2 separate regions of the Homo sapiens genome follow, and region 2 is linked to region 1. The links are contacts of gene promoters, found by promoter capture Hi-C in blood cells and fetal thymus (Javierre and others, 2016). All regions are on one chromosome and are shown on one strand. Each heading gives the region's core, a stretch centred on a gene start or on the middle of the fragment in contact. The rest is flanking DNA. Distances are from core to core; before and after follow the strand shown. Region 1 holds the start of ARL6 (ARF like GTPase 6). Region 2 holds the start of CMSS1 (cms1 ribosomal small subunit homolog).

Evidence for each region. Contacts are between HindIII fragments. The CHiCAGO score rates a contact against its expected background, and 5 or more counts as called.
Region 2: the fragment with the promoter of CMSS1 here is called in contact with the fragment with the promoter of ARL6 in region 1 in 2 of 17 cell types (non-activated CD4 T cells and naive CD4 T cells); the score reaches 7.6 in non-activated CD4 T cells.

What each region holds. Positions count from the first base shown.
Region 1 is chr3:97,760,141-97,767,773 of GRCh38, reverse strand. ARL6 (ARF like GTPase 6) reads right to left here and starts at 3,016. Exons shown (of 8, transcript NM_001278293.3): 1 at 2,797-3,016. It overlaps EPHA6 (EPH receptor A6), which reads right to left. Exons shown (of 18, transcript NM_001080448.3): 18 at 6,242-7,633. RefSeq lists enhancers at 2,859-2,968, 2,684-3,183, 3,009-3,548, 3,184-3,685. The HindIII fragment of the contact is 6,880 bases long and covers 1-5,648 here.
Region 2 is chr3:99,813,995-99,821,627 of GRCh38, reverse strand. It overlaps CMSS1 (cms1 ribosomal small subunit homolog), which reads right to left and starts at 3,766. Exons shown (of 10, transcript NM_032359.4): 1 at 3,585-3,766. The coding sequence starts at 3,648. It overlaps HP09053 (a long non-coding RNA gene), which reads left to right. Exons shown (of 3, transcript NR_110821.1): 2 at 2,654-2,708; 3 at 3,156-4,996. LOC105374010 (a long non-coding RNA gene) reads right to left here and starts at 3,766. Exons shown (of 5, transcript NR_189163.1): 1 at 3,585-3,766. RefSeq lists enhancers at 3,500-3,809, 3,041-3,915 and a silencer at 3,331-4,085. The HindIII fragment of the contact is 550 bases long and covers 3,355-3,904 here.

The DNA.
Region 1 (7,633 bases), core at 1,767-4,266:
CTGCGAATTGTGATACTTGAAAATATGGAAGAATTAGGCCGTAGCCTTTCCAGAAAATCTGAAACAATGAATGGGCAATGGGGTTCATGTAGAAGGCAGAAAGTAGAAGGCAGATCTGAAAAGCAGACAGATTTTGAGATTTTGGTGATATCATTTAAGCCACTGTTAAATCTTTATCAGAAGCCAGCCCCATTGTTATATTTTGTAATAATATGAAGTTACAATAAATTCACTTTTTTTTTGCTTGCTTGGTTATTTCCAGTTTAAGTAGGGTTTTCTCTCAGTAGAAGCAAAGAATCCTGAAATACTTATCCTTATTTCCCCTTATCCTATACATACATCTTTGTAAGTCACCACAAATCCCTTTGTGAAGAAGGTTATGCATAAATACATACACACATTCAATTTATTGAACCTTACTAAATATCTGTTTTTTAACTGTAACTTATCTGAAACATCCTCCTAAGTGCTATTTTAAAAGGACTTTATCGTATTAGTATAGAATAAGGAAGTAAATACTGATTGTAGATTTTAATTTAGTTTTTTAAGTATCTTAAAAATTTCTTTGTTAACTTGTCCCTAAAGTGTTCATTTCTCTTGTTCAATTGTATTGATTCTTTGAAAAAAAAATTCTTTCTAATGCAAACTTAAAAAAAAACTATCAGCAATCCAAAAATAGAAGTATTTGGAAGTCAAATAAAACTGCTGTGTACATAAAACTTGCTATGTGGTAACTTTATGGCTGTTTATATTCATCTAAGGTACTGTTAAATTTACACTTCAGGTCTCCAAACTAAACTTTTCAAAGGAGCTCACTTTGGGTCCATTGCTCCCCAAACCATTACTTTGTGGTAGAAGGACAGGGAGATAGATCCCTTTTTCCAGCCCCCAACTGCTGCAGGAACTGCTACAATATATCTATGTACCAAATATTTCTCATTACTCACCAACATTAGTTCTCTAATGTTTTTATTCTCATTAAATTGACTTATTCTCATCTCCATCTAAGGTTGCATAAGCAACCTGTCATATTACAGTTTCTTCAATACTTTTTATTCCATACAATTTCAGGCAAGGCCATACCTTGAAGGATGTGAGGCTGCAGCAACTTTATCAATAACAGGCTTCCAAGACAACTGTATCTAAAAGGAGGTTGCATAGTCAACATTTTGCTTAGGCCTTTTGGGATATGATTATGGGTAGAAATTTCAAAACTAAATTTCAGTGATGTGCAGAGAAGAGATGGAACAGTGCCATGCCAAAAGGTGAGGCCTATTACAGAACCACGTTTGTCTTTCCCCAAGGATGAGTTTGACCTCAGGTACTTCCATTTGTGCCACTTCAATCTGCTTTTCTCCTTGTATCAGAGATTCAAATCTTATTCAGTCCATTTCTTTAAATTACAGCTTAAGGACCAGCATTTGTAAAATCTATTTTAAATTAACCTTCTGATGTCATGAAGCAATTCACACATACCATTTGATTTCAAAGTAAATTTGCTATTACTCACTTTATTTACTGCATAAACATATTGATATAAATGCTTATATCTTGTTCTCCATTTCATAATTTAGAACTTATGTTTTAAAAACGACAACTTCTCACATTTTCCCCCCTTTAAGCATCTACTATAAAGCACTGAGTGTTTAAAGCCTGATGCTTGAATATTCGTTTTTCACAGTACCTTGTATTGTGACTTTCCATCACTTTTCCATGGATTATCACTTGATACTTGTTAATGAAATATTTTGGGACACACAATTTAGAAGAGCAGGCAGTTTTTCTAAAAGAGGTAATCACATTTATTGAAATTGCTTTATAAACAACTATCATAGAGCCTTTAAACTTCTACGTTTCAAGTAGTTATAATTTTCCTTCCATAAGTTGACTTTCTGCATGCATAAATAAAAGATAATTGAAGCCAGTCAATATTTGTTAATCGTGTCTTAAGTGTGCAGCGAGAGACACAACTGTTTTCTGCAGCTTCCTACTCTGATAGCCATGATTCTCAACCCTGGCTGCACTCTGAAATCAATTGCTGAATCCGAATTTTTGAAAATAAGATCAGGGCATCTGTAGTTTTAAAAGCTACCCAGTGTTTCTGATGTGAAGTTACTATTGAGAACTACTGGCTTTCAGAATAAAGCCAGTAGTTTCAAACTTCCAAGCACAGCTTTTAAGGTTGTCCACAATCTGGCTCCAATCTTCCTTTCTTGTTTCTTATCTTACTGTAACCCTCTCTTTGCACACCAGCCAAATTCTCTTGGTTATTGTCTGACAGACTGTTTCCTAAAGGATTACATATTGCCAGAGAAGTCCAGAAGAATTAGGATGTTATCCACAGTTAACAGCTTAGAGGGTAAGCTGCAGAGACAGAGTGGTAGCCCAGAGAAAACACCACGAATGATACTTAGTAAACTCTGTAAAGTGTTTGTTGATTGAAATGTTGCCTACTTTTATTACCCCAAATAAACATTCTTATTCGGCTTTCAGTTTTTTATGATATAATTTAAATTACACTTACACACACACACACACACACACACACACACACACACACACCCCCAATACACGGGTCTAAGTTGAGCATTGTTAAAACCCATCAACCAAACATACGTCCAAACCAGTTTAGTAAGTTTTCTAGGGCCTCTATAACTCACCTTCTTTTCTACTTCTCATACATTAGCAACAACTACACGCGTGGAGTGAAAAACATGGGAAAGACCAAAGAGGAATTCTAAAACTGACGGGGACAGAGGGTGGCGCTGGCTTTAAAAACCGGCGTTGAGGAGATACCTGGTTTTTGAGGTTAGTCCGGAGGGCGCAGGAGCTGGCAACAGGAATGGACGCACTCGTATCGGTCTCCGGGATGGAAATCTGGTGCGAGGGTCCCTCAGCCTTCTTCTCGATGCCTACATGGGAAGGATGCCTGGTAATGAGCAAAGCCGTCTCTAGAAGTTGGGAAAACCGGCAGCCTCTGCAGCAGTCTGTGCATCAGTCGCTGAGCAGGCGCCTTGGCAGGCACCGTTCCCTTGGCAACAGGAGCTTCTTCCGGTCCTGAAGCCACGCCTCCCCGGGGGTCCTGGCGATTCAGCCGTTGTGCTATAGCTTCTGGGATTGAAGAGCTCCGGGAAAAGGTCAGAGGCGCGCCGAGGAACTATACATTGAAGAAAAATGTGTGCACAGGTGGCAGGGTGAGCTGCCTATTTCCTGCGAGGAGCCGGGCAGTTCCCGGCGTAGCATCATGGGAGTTGTAGGCTCGCGCACAGCTTTCTGGGAAGCGTTTGGCGTTCGCGTGTGCTGCGTGTTTGTCGCTCGGCCCTGGTCTTCCTGGGGATCCAAGAGGCTGGCGCTGGGTGTGGCGCGGAGAGTGTCGTTACCGGGCACCAGCGTAGCGTTGTGGCAACGACTGCAAGACGATACTGTCCCCCCTGGGGCAAGATGTGCGCCGGAGTTCCCCAGTTGCCCATCGCACCGACTCTTCTCTGGGTTCTGATAGGCCTCCCACCCTGAGTCCCTGTAGAGGTAAAACTGTTAATACAGGAAGGTAGAGGGGAGAACTGGTGTAAAAAGTCAAAAGGTGTTATTCGGCTAATAAAGTATGCCTGTACCCCTGCTTCTTAGTTGTGTGGTCTCCCGAAGAGATTTCTACCAGGCATAATCTCCTGTGAGTAGATTACAGTCTCCAGAATCAAATCGGCAGGTGGTCAGGAAAGGTATTAATAGTCAATACTTAAAGTTGACCACCTTCTTAAATTGCACTTGGATTTTATAGTCATAGTCACAAATGGTCTTCAAATAGAAAATATTTAGGCATACCCTTCCCCACATCTTTTATTACTGCGTTTTCCAACGGACACATTACAGATGCAGTCATTTTAAAGATCTAGCCTTTCAATCTGCCCAACTCCACTAACCTCACCCCCAGCGAATGGCCTCATTCTTCAAATAGGGGTTTGTATCTCTTCATTTTTTTTGTTTGCATGGGTGTAGGATTTCCGACCCCCTGCCCCCCACCGCGCGACCCTTTTCAACTAGCTAGTGTATGTTTACTGCACTGCCTGTTCTTTGGCCTGTCAATTCATTTGGCCTATTAAATGGACTAGGAGGGTGCAAAAAGAGACTAGAAGGAATTATTTCAAAGTAATATGGTAGGGGGGACGGTTGTAAGCGTGTGATTATGGGGTGATTTATCTTTTGTCACTTCTCCAAATTTCCAAATGTAATTGTCATTTTTACAGCGAAAAAACAAAAGCGGCTCTGGATTAGTGATTCTTGTTGAAAGACAAAAACAAAACAAAGACCCTATGGATGCATATCAACATATAAATGTCCTTGTAAAAATGGAGTATGGAAATACATTCTTTCTTACTGTGTGGTCTTAGCCCAATTTACCCTTCTCCGTGCTTCTATCCTCACCTTCAAAAATATAGTATTTATCTTATCTGGTAGTTCTGAGTATTAAAGATAACAGAAATACAGATGTTTGGCACATATTTATTGTTCAATAAATAATGTCCTGTCTTCTTTTGTCTTGAGCTTTTTATTGTGTAAACAAAATTGACCCAAACCGTAACTATGGTGGTTCTTTAACTTCTGAACTTCTAATCGTGAATGCATTGACAGGGAGGTGTTGAACACTTTTCTGTGTGCCTGGGTGTTGTGACTTACTTGTAAGAGATGGAAGCTAATGTGCTTGCGGCCAAAATATAACATTTTTTTTTCTTAGCGATCGGCAGAAATGTTATATTTCAGAAAACTTTCATGGACAGACTCAATTTTTCCTGCTAAAAGTTGATATTTTCTGCCTCTAGGTTGAGTTCATCTCTTTTGGCTTAATATAAAACATTTGGTGAAAACTGGAAATAAAATGGACATATTGAGCATCCAACTTTTCAGGAAAACAAGGCAGATAGATAATTCTTCTACAAAAATGTAGCTAGTCAAATCGTTATCTTAGATAAGTATAGTTGATAGATGGCTTATTACTAGAGATAAATGTTATGAAATAAAGCAGTAAAATAATCTAGAAAAAAATGTTAGCCTTGAAAATATTAAACTTAAAAAAACATAAAGGCTGCCAGGCCCGGTGTCTCACGCCTGTAATCCCAGCACTTTGGGAGGCTGAAGCAGGTGGATCACCAGGTCAGGAATTCAAGACCAGCCTGGCCAACATGGTGAAACCCCATCTCCACTAAAGATACAAAAATTAGCCGGGTGTGGTGGCACGTTCCTGGAATCCCAGCTACTCAAGCGGCTGAGGCAGGAGAATCGCTTGAACCGGGGAGGCAGAGGTTGCGGTGAGCTGAGATTGTGCCATTGCACTCTGGCCTGGGCAAAAGGGTGAGACCCTGCACTCAAAAACAAAACAAAACAAAAAACATAAAGGCTGGGCACACTGGCTCACACTGTAATCCCACCACTTTGGGAGGCTAAGTAAGGCAGGAGGATCTCCGGAGGCCAGAAGTTGGAGACCCCATCTCTATTAAAAATAAATACATATAAATATTTCATATGGTTGATTCTGCTGTTTTGGTGCTTTGTCAACTGAAACTCCTCTCACGAGTACATTCAGAGGCTGAGATACAATTGTTTCGCTTGATTTAAGAAGTTAGTTTGACTCTTTTTTATTATGACAATAACAAGCTTTAAAAATGCTACGTGATTTTCTTAAAGCCACTTAACCATAACAGAAGATAATTTTAGGTACCTTCTCACCAGTTTTAATTTCATACTGGCTTTTAGAACTGTAGTAAGAAAATTATAAAAAAGAAAAGAGTCAGATATAATGAACACAGCACTGTTCTGATTAATTCAGGATACTTTAGCGTTATTTTCTCACCAGCAACTTTTAAAAGAATATAGATAATCCCTGATTTATAACTTACTGCAACTTTTTGGTGTAAACTTTGGTCTAAAGCTGTGTTTCAACAGTTGATGTTATGTGTACCCTTTTTTCATCTGCAATTTCTGTGCAGTACTGCCTCTGCAATGAACACTTTAATTTACTTGAATCTCACAAAATATTTTCCAATATAAAATCGCTACAAAAATATTTACTAGTTTTTTATAGTGATTTCTGTGAATTTATGTCTAAACCTAATGACATTATTTAAAAAATTTACAACTATGATTTTGCATCCAGAATTACTAAATTATCTAAACAGCATCTAGATTTATTAGACCAAAAAATAAATTGCATTAGATCTGCATAAATACAACAATACAAAAAAGTCACAAATTCAACCACCAAAGCTGTAACTTTTATTTGCCAATAGATATTTTAATAAACAGGCTTACTCCATCTGTAAGACCCTGATAATGCCTCTTAGGAAATCATAGAAAAATAAAATACAATAATTAGTAATTTGTACCTTGTACAAAAATCTTATTATGTTGCTCAGCAGGTAGTTTGCTAAACAGCATATTCTTTCAGCAAATAGATGACATATGTTATGCAATTCACCACAAACAACCCCTCATATTGAGAGCTGAGCATTCTATAACACTATTAACTTGTAAGCATGCCAGCACATGAAAATTTACATGGAAAGTTATTAATATTATAGTAGATTTTTGTAAGATAAAAATAGTACCACCTTCAAATAAGTCTGGACTACTTCACTGCTATAGTAAAGTAGATAATAGGTAGGATTGCAGTTCAATTGTTAACACCTTTTTACCTTGTTTATAGCTCTACCATATTGTGATTATAACCAGAAAAGAGAATGTAGGCTGTGTCAGGAACCTGAGTGGAAGGCATATATTGAAGCTTTAAATGGTGACAGAATACTAAAGAGAAAAACATAAAACAGTGCTATACTTCCCTATTCTCATAGATAAATCTTTTTCCCCTTTTGTAAGAGCAGATGGGTACAGAGTTAAATCCTTAATTAATAATAAATAGCTTCATGACAAGTTACAATGATGCTTTAAAAATCATATTTGTACTTATAGGGAGGGAAATTATTTTTAGCTGTCGTTTTTTATTAGTCAAATATAGCTCTATGAGGGATTAAATATCTCAACCTAGACATGTTATCTAGGTATTTTATATAAATATGCTATTTAGTTTGCATATACTTCAGGATTTGTGCTACAAAGATTTTATAACATTTTGAGTGCACTGCAATTGTTGATATCATCTACCATTTAAAATTTGATGCGGCCATTTAAAATTTAAAGTGTTTAATCAAATACATATGTATATGTACATCTATATCTTTATATTTTTGGCTATGCTAGAACAGCAAAAAATGGAGAGCAATCTCCATTATTCACAATCTAATTTCACATCAAATCCAAATAATAATGCATCTTTAAATTCCAACATATTGAATTACATACAACCTAGAGAGATATATATACACACATACACACATACATATGTATATATACATATGGTATATATACATATATATAATATATATATATATATCTCCAGAAACAAAGCACCAAGCACAATTAAAAGATCACATTCTTCCTATAGGATAGAGGGGCACAATGAACAACCAACCATATTGCCCATGTGTTTTCCGTAAATGACAGAAGGCATTGTTTTCCTATATGAAAACAAAATAATTTTTACTAAAAGATTAGTTCCTGTTTGTCTTTTATTTTAAAATTTACATGG
Region 2 (7,633 bases), core at 2,517-5,016, 2.1 Mb before region 1:
TTTCAGCATTAATATTTTCACATCATTATTCTACTGAATGTATTACTTACTATAAGTCACTTCAAACAGTTGCTGAAGGTTTACAGGGAATAAGGAAATAAATCAAATATTAGATGCCATTAGATGATTCCTGGGGTCTTATGCCTAAGGCATCCTGGGCTGCACACTCAGCACTGTAACTCCCAGCTGTCTTATGTTGGGCCATGACTCCAATTGCCACCAATGGAGTGACTAGACATCCCTTAAGGACCAGGAGAGTCCCTGCAAAATTCTAATTGCATAGCCTTCCACTCACAAAAGTGTCTAGATTGGATGAGAAATTATATGTCTGCCTACATACTCTGTAGCAGGTAACACGCATACACACATATATTTATTCTGCCAACATCCACCAAACACCAATTAAGTGCCAGGTCCCATGTTGAGCTCCAGTGCAATGTAGAACTCTAGCACAAAAATGACAGGTTTTAAAGAGCCATGAAAACTTTGTTACATACCACATCTAAGAAGACATGATAACAGCCAAAAAATAGTACAGTTCCTTAGACAGACAACAAACAGATAGGCACATTAGATAGATGTTATAAACCATGTACAACCAACAAGTATTTGTAAGTGACTGAAATCTTCCACTGCCTTGCTACCATGGATGTCAAGTGGGAACAGATTATAGCAAAAATGTTTATTTTTATAGGCAGGTAGCATAATCCACAACAGGAATAAAAGCACCAATACAACTATCTTTCCTTTCTCTGATTTAACATATTATTTCTCCTTCAACTTTCAAAACAAAACATAATTCACATACTTTAGGCTGAAACAACAATTGAATACATTTGACATCCCTATCAAATAACTTAAGTAAAGACTTCAAGAAGGCAGCCAGGTAAGTAAGCCTTGTGCTCTAGGATCAAGGCTAGATCCCATCAACAAAAGAAGAATCAGGAAATCTGTGGTTCAGCTGTGATTTCTTTTGAATTAGAAACGCTGTACAGATTACAATTAGGCAAATTGCCAGTGAATAATCAAGGATATTTCAAATAAAGGCATATACTTACTTTGCTTAAGAGCAGCGAACAAAGCAAAGGCCTCTGATAAATTTAATGCCAGCAATTTTCAAAGCTTAGTCTTGGCCGGGTGCGGTGATTCACACCTGTAATCCCAGCACTTTGGGAGGCCAAGGCGAGCAGATCACTTCAGGTCAGGAGCTCAAGACCAGCCTGGCCAACATGGTGAAACCCCATCTCTACTAAAAATACAAAAATTAGCTGGGGGTGGTGGCAGGCTCCTGTAATCCCAACTACTCGGGAGGCTGAGGCAGGAGAATCGCTTGAACCCAGGAGGTGGAGGTTGCAGTGAACTGAGATCGCACCACTGTACTCCAGACTGGGGGACAAGAGTGAGACTTCGTCTCAAAAAAAAAAAAAGGGTTAGTCTTATGGCTAGAAGGAATGTAAGAAGTAGAGCAATCTTAGGCACTCCAACACACTGTCTTCATGAGAATTCTGGCAACTTAGATGAAGGAGGCTGTAGCGATTTAAAGTTTTACTAGATTCAGTGTTTAAAACTGTTGGGGGCCAGGCACGGTGGCTCACGCCTGTAATCCCAGCACTTTGGGAGGCCGAGGTGGGCAGATCACGAGGTCAAGAGATCAAGACCAGCCTGGCCAACATGGTGAAACCCCGTCTCTACTAAAAATACAAAAATTAGCTGGGTGTGGTGGCGGGCACCTGTAATCCCAGTTACTTGGGAGGCTGAGGCAGGAGAATCGCTTGAACCCAGGAGGCAGAGGTTGCAGTGAGCCGAGATCGTGCCACTGCACTCCAGCCTGGGCGACAGAGGGAGACTCCGTGTCAAAAAAAAAAAAAAAGAAAAAAAAAACTGTTGGTTGGTAAAACCCTAAAAAAGATGATCTTTAAGGGCTCTTTACAGATTATGATACAAAGGCCCAGAGAAGTCACAAAGTAGTAGCGGGAAAAGCGTGACTTTCAAAATCAATCACACTTGACTAAACTCTTCCCAGACCTCTTCTTCAATGTGTGTTCCTAAGAACACGACTTAACTTTTTTCTGTTTCTTCACCTATACAAATGAAGAGAATACTTACCTTTTCGGGATGTTATGAAAGTTAAATCAATTCATATTTATGAAGACATTTGTCACATAATAGATACTCAATACATGTTGACTGCCTTTCTTCCAACGGATGAATAACTTGAAAGTCACACAGCTAGTGAGGACTAGAACCAAGAATTGGGATCCCCTTCACCACTCAAACAGAATTCAACTATTTCTTAAATGGCCTCTGTTCATCTTCAATCATATCATAAAATAGAGCTTTTTAACACCTGAGTTGGGAGGGGTAGTTATTAAAGTAAATGTGGAACACCACAGGGCTGCAAAAGAGTCAGGAAGTTTAATCAAGGAAATGTTGTATTGGCTACCTTTCTAAAAATGACATCTGCTTAGTTTGTACCTGAAGGCTTGACCTTCCGGAAACAATGCAACAAATGAAGTTGGTTATTTTTAATGGATATTTCACAACTAGTATTTCAAGATTGTTTGCAGCAAATAGGTATCAAGTGTCTAACATGTGCAGGGCCCTGTGGATGACAGAAGTATGAATCTGACTTTGGCCCTGTCTTCTCTTGTAGAGAAAAGAGGCAGACCTTGAGGAGTGATAAAAACCAACCAACCAATAATTGCATGGTAGGTGTGATGGAACTTAAAAAGTTCAAGGCTAGCCTGACATGGGGGGTCACTTAACGCTACTCTACTTGGGGATGAAATGCCCACTGCATCAGGAGTTGGTAAACACAGCAGAGCATAGTAGAAACTATTCAAATTGTGTTAACTGAATTCTAGTATTGTTTCTGAAAGGAGCTAGCTTTGTGAACTTGTCAAGTTACTTGACATCTTTAGGTTATGTTTCTCATCTGTAAAATAAGTGAGTTCAAAGGATGATCTCTATTTAAGCCTCCTTCCAGTTCTACTATTCCAAATTCCATGATAATGATGATGACCACAAGAAATACAGTAACTTATATTTACCACACATTATATGTCAAGCACTATGCTAAAGTGCATTACTGTACTAACTTCACTTAATCTTCACAACTTTACGAAATGGACATTATTGTTATCATTATTTTACAGATGAGGAAAAGGAGGCTAAACAGTATCAGAATACTGGAGTCGTGATTTGAATGGAGGGAGTCTGAAGCAGCAACCCCTGCTTCTGACCTCAGTCTGAATTGAAAGCAGTTCATGGGTCACCCTTAACCATCATACAAAGTTGCCTCTCTTCACAAAAACTGTCTTATCCATTCTCAAGAAATAAGGAAAAGAGAAAGCTTGTGGAAAGGATCCTTCCTGGCTGGCAGACAGATCTGAGTTAATGTCACAGCTGTCTGTTTCACGTGTTAAAGAATCTCTTGCACCATTTTCCCCGAGATGCTTGCGCGCTCCCAAGGCGGTGCACACCCCTGCTGGGCAAACACCGCGATCGCCAGAAGCGACCAGGGCTGAGGCGCACGGAAGGGCTCCGGGAGAGGCCCCGTAGGAGCGCGGGCACAGAGTGGGTACCTGGGCTGCTGCCTGCTCCAGTCGGCTGGTTCTCCCACCACTCGTCTCCGAGATCGTCTGCCATTTCAGCTCAGGTCTCGACGTGGGCAGAACATCACGGGTAGGCGACCAGCTGCGGAGAATCACGTTGTCTCAAAGCCAGGCGGCCGGCGTAGCTACACGCGGAGCTCCCGCTAGACACTGTCGCCTCCGCCCCGCGGCGATGACGTCACACCTCTGCCCCGCCTCTCCGGCAGCCGCTCCCAGACTCGTCGCAGTTTCCACACAGGCGCCGACAGGCAGAAGCAGTTTGGAAACGCAACATAAATCCCCCCAAAGCTTAAAGACAAAAAGGAACATAAGACGAAAGGGATTGTCATCGTTTTTGATAATGCATTTTAAAAAATTTTGTTTACGTGTTACGTTTCCCGATAAGATTGTGTCGAAAGTGTGAGACACCATGTGAAGACGATTTTTCTCCGCTCAGTTTCAAAGAACTTGCGCAGCGGGAGAAGACCCAAACATGTGCGTGTGTTTTCGCTTGTGCGTCAGTGTTTCAGAGTTTATGTGTTTGTACAGTTTGCTCTTAGAAAACATGCGCAAGGATCCATGACCATGAATGTCGGGCCTTTGTGGTAAATGTAGTTCTGCTATTTATGCAATATGAGTAAAGAAAATGTAATTGGCCTGGAAAGGCTCGCCCACAGAAAGACGCAAGTGGCTCGAAGACCCGCAAGTTGTTTTCCTCATACTCCCTCGGTTGTGTGTCCCACCCCCTATTTGGGAAACGAAGTAATAAGGGAGTCCATTGCTTCGTAACTATAGGTAAGAGACCCGCAGTGCCTCTTGTCTCAGTCCCAACGTGATTTGGCAGGGAGGGACTAGGAAAACCCGCTGGGCGCCAAGTGCTGGGGCTAGCTGTGAAGTAATTGTGGACGGTATTTTTCAGGACATCAAACACAGACGTAAAAATTATACAAAATGTAGTAAAAGCACGCAACGTGCCTGGTACTATGCATGGAATAGTAAGATGAGTCCATTCAGATGTTAGCCTACAGTAGTGGAAATTCAATTTGTAGGAATAAAGGGCTAGACTTCTAATAGGATACATCCTCGGAAATGACAAGACAGGGAAACTTAATCTGATGAGGCTAGGATTAGCCATATGTGGAAAATTACCCCGTGTGCACCCAACTCATAGATGTTTTATAAATGCATTACTGCCTAGACTTTGTCCGCACACTCTAAATGCCCCAAAAGGGAAGATATTATGTATAAATATGGCAAATGTAAAATAATCTATAAAGATCAAAAGTAATATGGCTTTTGTGAAGAAATGTAGATGACGAGATTTTCGTGATTAATAGATTTTTGAAAAAGATAAGAAATGCCAGTGTGGAAGAGGAGTTGCTATGGCTAATAAACATGAAAAGAATTCAGTCTGATTATTAATCTGGGAAATACAAAAAAAACACCACAGCGAGACCGTTTTTCAGGCAATAAATCACAAAATTAAGAAGTATGGGCCGGGCGCGGTGGCTCAAGCCTGTAATCCCAACGCTTTGGGAGGCCGAGGTGGGTGAATCACCTGAGGTCAAGAATTCCAGACCAGCCTGGCCAAAATGGCGAAACCCATCTCTACTAAAAATACAAAAATTAGCCGGGCATGGTGGCAGGCGCCTGTAATTCCAGCTACTTGAGAGTCTGAGGTAGGCGAATTGCTTAAACCCGGGAAGTGGAGGTTGCGGTGAGCCGAGATGGTGCCATTACACTCCAGCCTGGTTGACAAAAGCGAAACTCGGTCTCAAAAAAAAAAAAAAAAAAAAAAAAAAGAAGTCTGGCAATACTAAATTATGGAGTGTCTATGCATTAATGGGAATTGATACCTGTTTTGTACCATGAACTATGAATGGTCTTACATTATATTCCACCTCGCCTCAGCCTCCCGAGTAGCTGGGACTACAGGCACATGCCACCATTCTTGGTTATTTTGTTGTTGTTTTTGTTTTTTGTAGATATGGCGTCTCATTTTGCTGCCCAGGCTGGTCTTTAACACCTGGCTTCAAGCAGTCCTCCCACTCCAGCCTGCCAAAGTGTTGGTATTAGAGGCCTAAGCCACTGTGTCCAGCCATTTTTTACATTTTTAAAGCATTGTAAGAAACAGAACAAAACAACAACGACAACAACAAAAACGTAAAGAAAAATATGCAGCAGAGACTGTAGCCCTCATATATTTACTATTTATTACTATTCCCTCATATATTTGCTCTAACTTTACAGAAAAAAGTTTACTGACCCCAGATTATATTGAATAGCCAACCTAAGTTGTAGCATCCATTTCTGTTCTGTTTGTTCTGTTATTAGTGAATTGGTTATTAGTGAATAGGCATCCTGGTTTATAAATCAGTGTATTGTAAAACCGTACTCTCCAGTATCTGATCATATCATCTAACACAGGGAAGCTCAGGCTGAAATAACTATTAGGTCTTTTTCTGCTCCCTCTTACTGTTCAGTATCTGAATGAGTATTATTAGAGTTTAAAGGAGGAAGCATTCATTTCCCAATGGGGCGAACTGGGAGGTAGCACTTGACAATGGATGTCTGTCGGCAAAAATGGATAGGGTAAATGATAGTTCCTTGGCAGAAAGATTGCAATGTTGCTTTGAATAAGTTATTAAACTTTGCTGGGCATTTCTTTGTGAGTCTGTAAAATAAAGGGGAGCAATTTCATGATTCCTGTGGTCTCTTCCAACTCCATGCCTTAATCTTGAGTATCAGACCAAGAATTCTGGATTTTTGTCGTTGTTATTAGAGGCAAAGGACATGATGGAAGTATTGTTTTAGGAAAGCTAAATTGGTATTACTGTGCAGGATGAATAATGGATTTGAGCAGAGCTTCCCACCTGGCATGGGTGGGCTGAAGACTGACCCCTGCAGTCTTTGGAGGAAGCAGTGACCTTGGGGCAGTTGCCTCAGGTTGAGGGTATCATCATCTTTTCACTCTAGTGTTGTACAGATATTACCATTTTCTATGGATGCCATGATGTGAAAGGTTGGCAAAAACTGAATTAGTAAGAGAGCGATAAAGTTTGAAGGCTGTTTCGTGAATGCTCACCACACAATGAAAAGGTCTTAATCAGTGCAGAGGTTCTTAGTCAATAAGCCCAGCCTATAAGTGTACTTCAGGAACCATCATAATGCATTCAAACTTTTGCATCATGTAGACAATAATGGTAGTAACAATATCAACAATAGCATGTTGTATGTACCTCTCTATGCCTCTTATATCTTAATTCATTTAATCATAACTCCATGAGATACTGTGCTGGGACTAGGGTGAGGCAAGCAGAGACCTAGGATACCAGATTTAAGGAGGCAGTCACTCTCAGGCTGACACTGACACCGACCTGAGAATGCTTGTCTCACTTGAGTCCTGACGCTGGTCCCTTTACTGAAGGCCACAGCTCTAGTTCAGCAGCTCTCCTCAATTCTTTCTTCTGAGTCTAGTAACTTGCCTTTGTCTCTTCAGACTTAGGAGTGGTAACTGCTCCCCACCATTACTAGTCCTGGGGTTCTACACCACGTTTCATTTCCCTAACCTGACCTCATGTTCAGAAATACTCCCCTTACTAAATTATTTTCAGTTTTCCAGCTTAAATGGGTCATCTTTTGCATGGTAGGACCCCAACTGATAAAATCAACTGCCTACTTAGGGTTCCCCTCAAAGCAGAGCCTGTGACAAAGGCTTGGGTGCAAATAGTTTATTTGGGAGGTGATACCAGGATGCAGGAATAAAGGCAGAGAGAATGAGACAAAGAAGGAGGATTGATATTAAACTGGTTTTGATGTAGACAATGACTGGCTCTTTATCCTCTTGAAGACCCTCTGAAAAAAATAGGATATACCCCAGAATTAGCCTCACAAAGTGATACAGGAGTTAAGAAGAAATTACTTAGACACATAGTAAGGGTATGGGAGTCCTCAGTAAGGCTTTTCTTTTTAATGAAAAGCAGCCCCAAATAATTTTCTAACAAAGAGCAGCCTGCAAGCTGGGAGCTTACACGAATGAA